Linked DNA regions of Homo sapiens: region 1 is linked to region 2. The links are contacts of gene promoters, found by promoter capture Hi-C in blood cells and fetal thymus (Javierre and others, 2016). All regions are on one chromosome and are shown on one strand. Each heading gives the region's core, a stretch centred on a gene start or on the middle of the fragment in contact. The rest is flanking DNA. Distances are from core to core; before and after follow the strand shown. Region 1 holds the start of ACVR2A (activin A receptor type 2A). Region 2 holds the start of RBM43 (RNA binding motif protein 43).

Region 1 (4,281 bases), core at 68-2,567, 3.4 Mb before region 2:
CGGCGGGAATGGATTCAAGTTGCGCATCGTGATAAATGGCGTGAATATCCTGAGCGGGTGGACAGCCCTTCCTCCGTGAGTTTTTTCTTTTTCTTTTCTAGTCACCAAGACAGCACGCGTGTGCAGAAGCTGCAGCGGTGGGACGCAGTGCTAAGTCTGGGGGCGCACACACCAGCTCGCGCGTCGCGAGCTCGCCTGGGCAGCTCGGCGGGCGCGGCGAAACAGCTCCCACGTCCGCCTTCCACCGACTCCTCGGTATCAGAGCGGACGAGGCGTCCCCCCAGAGGAAAGACTGGGCGCCGCAGACGCCCCTTGGAGAAGTCCCTGGCCACTCGCCCCACCTCGGGGTCCTCTTCCTCTTGGGCTTCTCCTGACCCTTTGGGTGGGCGCTCCAGACAGGCCCGTCGGACGCGATTTGGAAACGGGTCGTGCCCGGCCTAGCCCGCATCTACTCGCCCGGCCACAGCCCAGCCACAGCTTAGGGACTTTGAGGCGCCCGCGCCCCTTTGTCGCGGTATCTCTAGCCCAAGCAGGCCGGACGCCGAGGCCTCGCGGTATCGAGCCTCCGTCCGCCCCGCCTCCTCGCCCTCCACTCCGCCCCGCCCTCGCTCTCTCACCCCTCCCCCGCTCCCGCCTCGCTTCCCCGACAATCTCCTCGCGCTCCCGGCCCGGCACGCGCGCTGCGCCCGGCCGCCGCTGCCGCCGCCGCCGCCGCCGCCGCTGCCGCCGAGCGTTCCTCCGCTGCGCCTGGCTTCCAGCTTCGGGCCGGAACCGGAAGTTTGGGGGGCGGAGCCCGGCGGAGGCCAGGAGACCGAAAACGCGGCCGAGCCCGGAGCCCGGAGCTGGAGCCAGAGCCTGGACCAGAACTTGGCCGCCGCCTGCACCGCCGCCGCCGCTGCCGCCCGCCGCCCCTTCCCCGCGCCGCAGCCGCCTCGCCGCCACCGCCGCGAGCTCGGCCGCCAGTGGTCCTCGGACTTTAGGTGTCTGGGTTGAAGGTCGGTCCGGACATCGGACCCAGTCAGTTCCCAGACTGTCCGGGCGGCAGCGGACGCCGCTGCCGCCGCCGCCTCTTCGTCGCCTCAGCCTGGCGTTTTGTTCCGAGAGACGGGAGAGGCGAGCGGAGCTGACAGTGATTTTGACAGTGATTTAAACCCGCTTTTGTTGTTGTTGGCTTTTCGTTGTTTGGTTTTGTGTGTTGTGCGTGTGTGTGGCGGTTTTTCCCCCGTGGTGCATTTTATTTTTTATCGTTGTGCTCTTTTTTTTCTTTTTTTTTTTTAACCCAGTGAGCGTTTTTTTTTTTTTTTTTTTTTTTTTTTGGTCTGGGCTTCCGAATATGTTTTATGACGGTTGATTTTACACCAGGAGGTTTGTCTCCGAGGAAGACCCAGGGAACTGGATATCTAGCGAGAACTTCCTCCGGATTCCCCGGCGCCTCGGGAAAATGGGAGCTGCTGCAAAGTTGGCGTTTGCCGTCTTTCTTATCTCCTGTTCTTCAGGTAGGTGCAGGGAGCGCGGCGCGGTGGGGCTGCTCCTGCGGCCGCGGCGGCCGCTGCTGGGGGCCGCGGCTGGTGTTGAGTCGGAGAGTCCAGTGGAGCCTGGGGAGGTTGCCCACTCCCTGCGCCCCTCGGCTGCCACCGCCCCCCCCCCCCGCCCCCAGGTCTGATTGTGATCTGGAAACCTCCATGCATTTTTCTCTTTTTGAGTTGGGTCGGCGAGCTGATAAGAGTGAGTGCTGTGTTGTTGTGGAAGTGAGAAAGTCATGTTTTGTGGCCATAACACTGGATGACAGCGCTGGTTGGGTTGCAATTAAGCCGCAAATACCACAAGTGACAATTTATGCAAAGGTTGAGATCTGAAAGGAGTATTTAGTGTGGGCTCCTCCAAAACAAGGGTTGCTTTTTGTCATCGTTTAATTAGTGCTTCACCGGTGAATATCACGACATAGATCAAGCCAGTTGCTGCTTAATTTTGGCTGTGGGAAACAATACATCCTATCAGCAATTTAATCTGGGTCTCCCCTCACGTTTTCTTCAACTTCAGCGTCCAGCAGTGTTAAAAATAGTTGTAGTTGTTGTTGGAGTATTAACTATAACCCAGTGCAGAAGAGGTATGCCGCTTGGTATTGGTAATGTGCTGGCGTTCAACCACCATTTGTGTGCTCTTTTGGGGCATAGATTTTGCTTACCTACGGAATACTTATTTTAAACGCTTTGTATTGAAGCATTGTTTTCGGTTTAGAACAACCCATGTGAAATTGTTTTTGTTAAATATAGTACACTCATAAAATAGGTTTTAGCTCAAGGTTGGGGGAATAAACGGGCCATTTTATATTGGAAATTTTGATTTTGTGAGGACGTTCTATGGTTGCAACCAGTGGTTGGAAAAACTATCTAGTCTTTTGTATTTGAAATTCTATAAATAAATACAGCATCTAGCTGAAAGGTGTGCAGATGTACATAACAGGAGAGTTAGTTCAATAGATGAAACATTTTAAATAAGTCTCATTGGATCTATTTATTGTAAAATTTAATATTCAGTTACAAGCTTGTGGCATAGAATTACGGGGGACTCTTGGAAACGGGGGCGAATTGACAGGTTTCATGGCCATGTCTTTATCTCGTTTGCCACAGGAAAATTAAAGGGTGGTAGTCTTCTTTGTGTACCTCTGTGGGGTGTGTGTGTGTGTGTTTGTGTGTTTGTGTCCGTCTTCCCCACCCCCCTTTAAATATAATCTTTTGTAATGTATAGAATTTTGCTGAATGGTACATTTCCTTGTGGTTAATAAATGGATAAAGTCTAGTCTTATGTCTGTAGTGGTATTGATCAGTTCCGGGTGGGCTGAATGTGTTGTGAAATGGCGATCATTGCCAGAGATTAACCAAAAGAATCATGTCTGTTTAAATGGAAGAAGGAACATGCTTAAGGCAGGCTGACAGTTCTTTTTGTGCACGGTTTGGGAAGGAAGCTAAACAATGGTGTGTCTGAAATGAATGAAGGCCTTGATAACATTAAACCTCTTGCTTTTGTGACATGACTTAACCATGTAGTTTTTATCTTTCCAGTAGTACTCTTTTTTCCTCTGCTTCTATATGTTGTGGCTGGTGAACTCCTCTTGTTCAAATCCCTTGTTCTGATCTCTTGCCCTTGAGGAGGAGGGGCATCATGGCCACTGACCAAGGAATTGTGGACATTATTCCCTCTCAAACCCACCTGAGTCACACTAATTGATGAAGGAGGTTATTCTTGAGCAGTCTCAAGGTATTACTTCTTGAAAAGCAGGCTGTCGCTACAGATCTTACAGCTTCTTCTGCTTGGTTTGGTAGTAAAAATAATTGAGCATTAGTTTCTTGTGGGATTATTTTCATTGGGCCAGGATTATTTTCAGTGGGCCAGGAGGTTAATAGCTATAATTTTGAAATAAAGTGATTTTGTTGCTGTAGGGCATATAGATATTCCACTTATATTAAACTAATATTATGTTGTTGCATAGGCTTTTTAAGATGAACATTCCCAGTTGAACTAAAATATGTGATTCTGTTGAAGATAATTGAAATAATCATAAAGACCTTAATCCATATTTATACATGAACAATTTGAGTACTTAAAATGTCTGATTTTTAAAAGCCTTTTGTTATGGATCAGATGCACTCTAAAAAAGGATTATTATGTTTCTCCAACTAATTGATTTTTCTACAAAATGTGTGATCTGACATGTTGGAAGCATGAGGTGACTATTTTTATGAGAATTTTAAAAATTCTCAGGTTGTCAGTTTTTCATTTCTAGATATTTGATTTTTTTTAAAAATCAAAATGGGAAACAATAGTAAGGAACAGTTTTGTTCCAGGTGTTTAGGAGGGATGTTTACTATTTCGTGGACTCTGATTTTTCAGTTTCCATCCCATGGTATGTATTCTGGAGACTGATTATGCAGACTATTCCTGTAGGATATGGCCAAGTGTATAATTTCCTCCTCTCTCTCATTCCAGGGGAAACATTTTAAATTTTGCCCCTATCCTGGAGTGCCTTCAGATTACCTTTGATTTTGAATTTTTTCATTCCTCTCATACTTTCTCAGATTCTGTTTCAAAACATAAATCTTAGTTTTCTTTTTATAGCATTGTGGTTTATTTGTGTCTTTCCCCACAGTTTGTTGAAGTATGAGAATGACTTTAATACTTGCTTTAGTACTTAGATTTATCCTATCTAGAGTTATGCAGCTATTGTGGTATTTGAGTTGCATAGAAGTAAGTTGAGAATTCCTTTGGATTTTGTGGGAGCTG
Region 2 (4,035 bases), core at 144-2,643:
CTATGCCCTCATTAGTACTAATACCATATTTCTTTATTCGAATGTCTACTGGTAATTTATCTTTAAAATCAAAGAAACTTCTCCCTGAACCAGTATTTTTAGAAGAAAAAAACATAAAGATGTAAATTTTGTTTGGTAAGAACTAGTTTCTATGAATCATCTAATGAATTAGTACTTCAATGACTTGCCAATATTTGTCCTTAACTCCCTTTCATAGGTTGGAGAAAGTATGGCTAACATAGATAATTTTACTGAGGTCAATTATGAATAATGAGGGTTGTTCATCTCTTCTACCCACGATTAAGATAAAGAAATGCCTAGAGAAAGACAGTCCTTTCAAGGACTTTGAAACGAGCAGCTTTTAGCCAAGACATACTAACGTGATGGCGCATTTCCTTGCATCAGTATTGTGTTATAACAGACTTGGCCATCTTATCAGAAAGCAAAAAGTATATAGCAAAACTTTACTTTTGTAAGTAAGGCATTGGGAAGAAACAGAAGATTCATTGACTGCATTTGTTTATATTGATTTTCTCAAAATCAGTTGTTTATTTTCAATGACGACGCCTCTACCGCCACCAGGTCAACAAAAACGTACTTGCTTTTGCATTTCCGGGACTCTAGCATTTCAGAGCAGGAATTAAAGGCCTTGCCAAGGCTTTTAAGCGATTGATGGAAACAAAACAAAACACAGAAGGATAAATTTTGAATTTGCTAAGACAAGAATTCGCACCAAGGCAGACATAAGACATGAGGATGTCTTCCTGACTTGCGTCCTTGGCTCGAATCGTTCTTATTAGCCCTTTTCAAAAGGCAGCTGTGACCTCCATTTCTGGCTAATCAGGCCACTTTTGTTCCCCCCGAGGCGTGGGAGGACAACAGTTAAGCCCTAACAGCCTGCGAAGCAGCTCCTCGACGAACGGCGGCGTCCCCGTCGCCTGGGCAGTGGGTGTGGGAGGTGACAGCCTAGTCCTGAGCCTCTGGAGCGGGCCTATACTGCACCGCCGTACGTGAATTTCAGGAGCGCGCAATGCCGCCACCTGGGAAGGGTGCAGCGAGGCTGACCTGAGTTTGCCCGCCGGGGTGGACGGCTCTCCGGGGCCCCCGGGGTCCCTGGGGCCCCTCCGTGCGCCGCCCCCTCCCGCGCAGCCCTGCACCCTGGCCCGTCGCGCCCGGTTCCGCGCCCTTCTAGGGGACCATGGCGACGGTACAGGCACGGACCTGCACCGCAAAACCCAAAGCAAAAGCAACTTGCCATGGCGGAGGGGAGACGCGCCCTCAGCGGCCGCAGAAAGCCCACAACCAGCGGAACGCAGGCGATGGGGAGAGGAGCGAGCAGGCAGGTTTTGGTTTCGTTTTTTGTTCCAGCTCCCTTGGAGGCTACGAAGAAAAGGGCGGTCCTTCCACCCGATCCGGCTGTTCTGCGACCTCGTGGCCTCTGAGTGGGAGCTCGGACTCAGGAGTGCTGTTGCCAGCGCCTGCCCAGACGCCCTCCGTAGTTTTGCAACTTGTGGAAGCACTCTGGAGAGAGGCCGAGAGGATTCCTCGACAGGAAATTTGGGAATTCTCTGGGTGATGCATCAGTGATTGCAATTTTGTTTTTACCCGTTTTGCTAAGCAGCAGCAACAACGGCAGAGTTGATTTAAAAAAAGAAAAAACGCAAAAAGGGAAAACACATAGTAGGTGGTGGCCGCTTCCTGTGTTGATACTGGGGGGCTACGCTTTTCCTAACATCAATCATCTCGTAGTTGCAGAGAGCCCTAGATGTCATGATAGTTTTGAATCGCATGCATTATCATGTAAGGGAGTTAAATATCTTGCATGCATGCTCTCTTCTGTGTTTATATATTCGATGCCATGAAATTGAAGGGCATGTGGCTAAAACCTTTTTACTACATGAAACTTTACAACACTTTTGAAAACATTTCAATTTGGTTGATGCGCACTGTAATATTTCTCCAGATAACTGTCCAAAATTTTCCATGGAGAAGGCTTTTATCCTCATTAGTTGCTGGCCTCAAACTAACCATCTAGGATATTAAACTTCTGCCAGAATTTTACATCCAGCTACCTTTACTTTTTAGAACGTATTCTCTATCATGTTATTGATATCAATTTCTACTTCACACAGATGGTTTTTTACAACAGCAAATCAAGTTTTTCTAACATCAGTTTTAAAAAGCCCTGCACTCAGTGAAATCTGGATGTCTTTCCTACGCCCTTATTATCTGTCCAGACTTCTTCCCCTTCCCCCACCGCTCACCTGGGCCTTTTCCTCTGCACAACCTACCCCAGTTCCCCAACCCCCACCTCAACCCCCAACGCCGTGTTGGTCACCTTCCCAGCCCAGACCAGGAGCCCTCTTGGACCTCTGCCGGGTGCTAAGGACACAGGATGAGAGCGCCAGGTCCCTGCCAGCAGAGAGCTCACCACCTTGTCCATGCCTTAGCACAGGAACCCCGAATGGCGCCTGTGGGGACACAGGGAATCTCTGGACAAACTTCAAAATCAAATCAATGAATGCATGAAGAACAAAGGTAGATGGCTAGCAGATATGAAGAAACCCAATCCCACTCCTAAGAAATGTAAATTGAAATAATAAGATACCATTTTTCACAACTAGATCTGCAAAACCAGAAAGTGTTAGCCTGAATGTAAGCATCAGAGTTGCTGCAAGCATAGATGGATGCAAATACTTCTAAAGATTTTTATCAAAATGTAAAGTGCAAAAAAATGTAAAATGCACATATTCTTAGTCTCAGCAATTCTACTTTTAGAACTGAACTTGAAGTTATAGTGCGCAAATGGCACTAAGATATTGTATAGAAATTTTAGTTGTACATTGCTTGAAATACAGGTAGTAATAATTTTTTTATAAACTGGGATCCACCTAGTTTATCATTGGATGGAGCTATTTGTTATACGGCTGATGATATATCAGTAAGGCACAAGGCTATGAAGATTTTAAAACAGAATGAGGTAGGGGGAAGTGGCTCCCGCCTGTATTCCCAGAACTTTGGGAGGCCAAGGTGGGCGGATCATTTTGAGCTCAGGAATTCAAGACCAGCTTGAGCAACATGGTGAAACCCGTCTGTACTAAAAATACAAAAATTAGCCGGGCGTGGTGGCACACACCTGTAATCTCAGCTACTCGGGAGGCTGAGGCTAGAGAATCGCTTGAACCCGGGAGGCAGAGTGAGCCAAGATCACACCACTGCACTCCAGCCTGGGCGAGAGAACAAGACTCTATCTCAAGAAGGAAAAAAAAAAAAAACAGCATGAGGTAGATCTGTATGTAATTCCCCAATTTATATTTTATCTCCAGATTTATATATCTAAGTGCCCACTTGAATGTCAAACAAGCATCTGAAATTTAACAAGTAGAACTCCAGAGCAAGACTCTGTCTCAAGAAAAAAAAAAAAAAACAGAATGAGGTACATCTGTATGTAATTCCCCAATTTATATTTTATCTCCAGATTTTATATATCTAAGTGCCTACTTGAATGTCAAACAAGCATCTGAATTTAACAAGGAGAACCCTTCTTCTCCCCTTCTTAATTCCCTCTCAAGAATTGGCAGCACTGTCTACCCATGAGCTCAAGCTCATGACCCAGTTCTTGATTTCTCTTTTCCTCATCCTTCTTAGTATACCCCAACAATGGGCCTTCCAGAGGGACCCAGTATCAGTCCCTCTTTCCAGCTGCATCCCTACCATCCTCATCCAGTCTCCATCCTCTCTAGCTCCTCAGTCCATTCTTGCTACCATACCCAGAAGGATCTTTTTAAAATGTAAATCAGATTCGACTTCTGTTTAAACACATCATTGTTTGCATTGCTTTCACCTGAGCCACAATGACCTTGATCCTTTTTTTTCTGGCCAGATCTCCTACCACTGCCCTGACCCTCTGCTGCAATCGCAACAAGCTATCAGCCTGGGAGTTTTGCCTGACCTATGTACTGTGTCCCTGCCTCAATAGCTCCGCCCTGATCTTCACTTGACTGGCTCCTGCTGTCACTTGGGTCTTAGCTACAA

Evidence for each region. Contacts are between HindIII fragments. The CHiCAGO score rates a contact against its expected background, and 5 or more counts as called.
Region 1: a contact is called between the fragment with the promoter of ACVR2A here and the fragment with the promoter of RBM43 in region 2, in 1 of 17 cell types (total B cells). The highest score is 5.2, in total B cells.

Annotation. Positions count from the first base shown.
Region 1 is chr2:147,843,712-147,847,992 of GRCh38, forward strand. It overlaps ACVR2A (activin A receptor type 2A), which reads left to right and starts at 1,318. Exons shown (of 11, transcript NM_001616.5): 1 at 1,318-1,496. The coding sequence starts at 1,442. RefSeq lists an enhancer at 1-418 and silencers at 545-734, 815-924, 1,680-1,759. The HindIII fragment of the contact is 3,923 bases long and covers 1-2,542 here.
Region 2 is chr2:151,260,470-151,264,504 of GRCh38, forward strand. RBM43 (RNA binding motif protein 43) reads right to left here and starts at 1,394. Exons shown (of 4, transcript NM_198557.3): 1 at 1,256-1,394. The coding sequence starts at 1,258. RefSeq lists a silencer at 938-1,207 and an enhancer at 1,248-1,477. The HindIII fragment of the contact is 8,034 bases long and covers 1-4,035 here.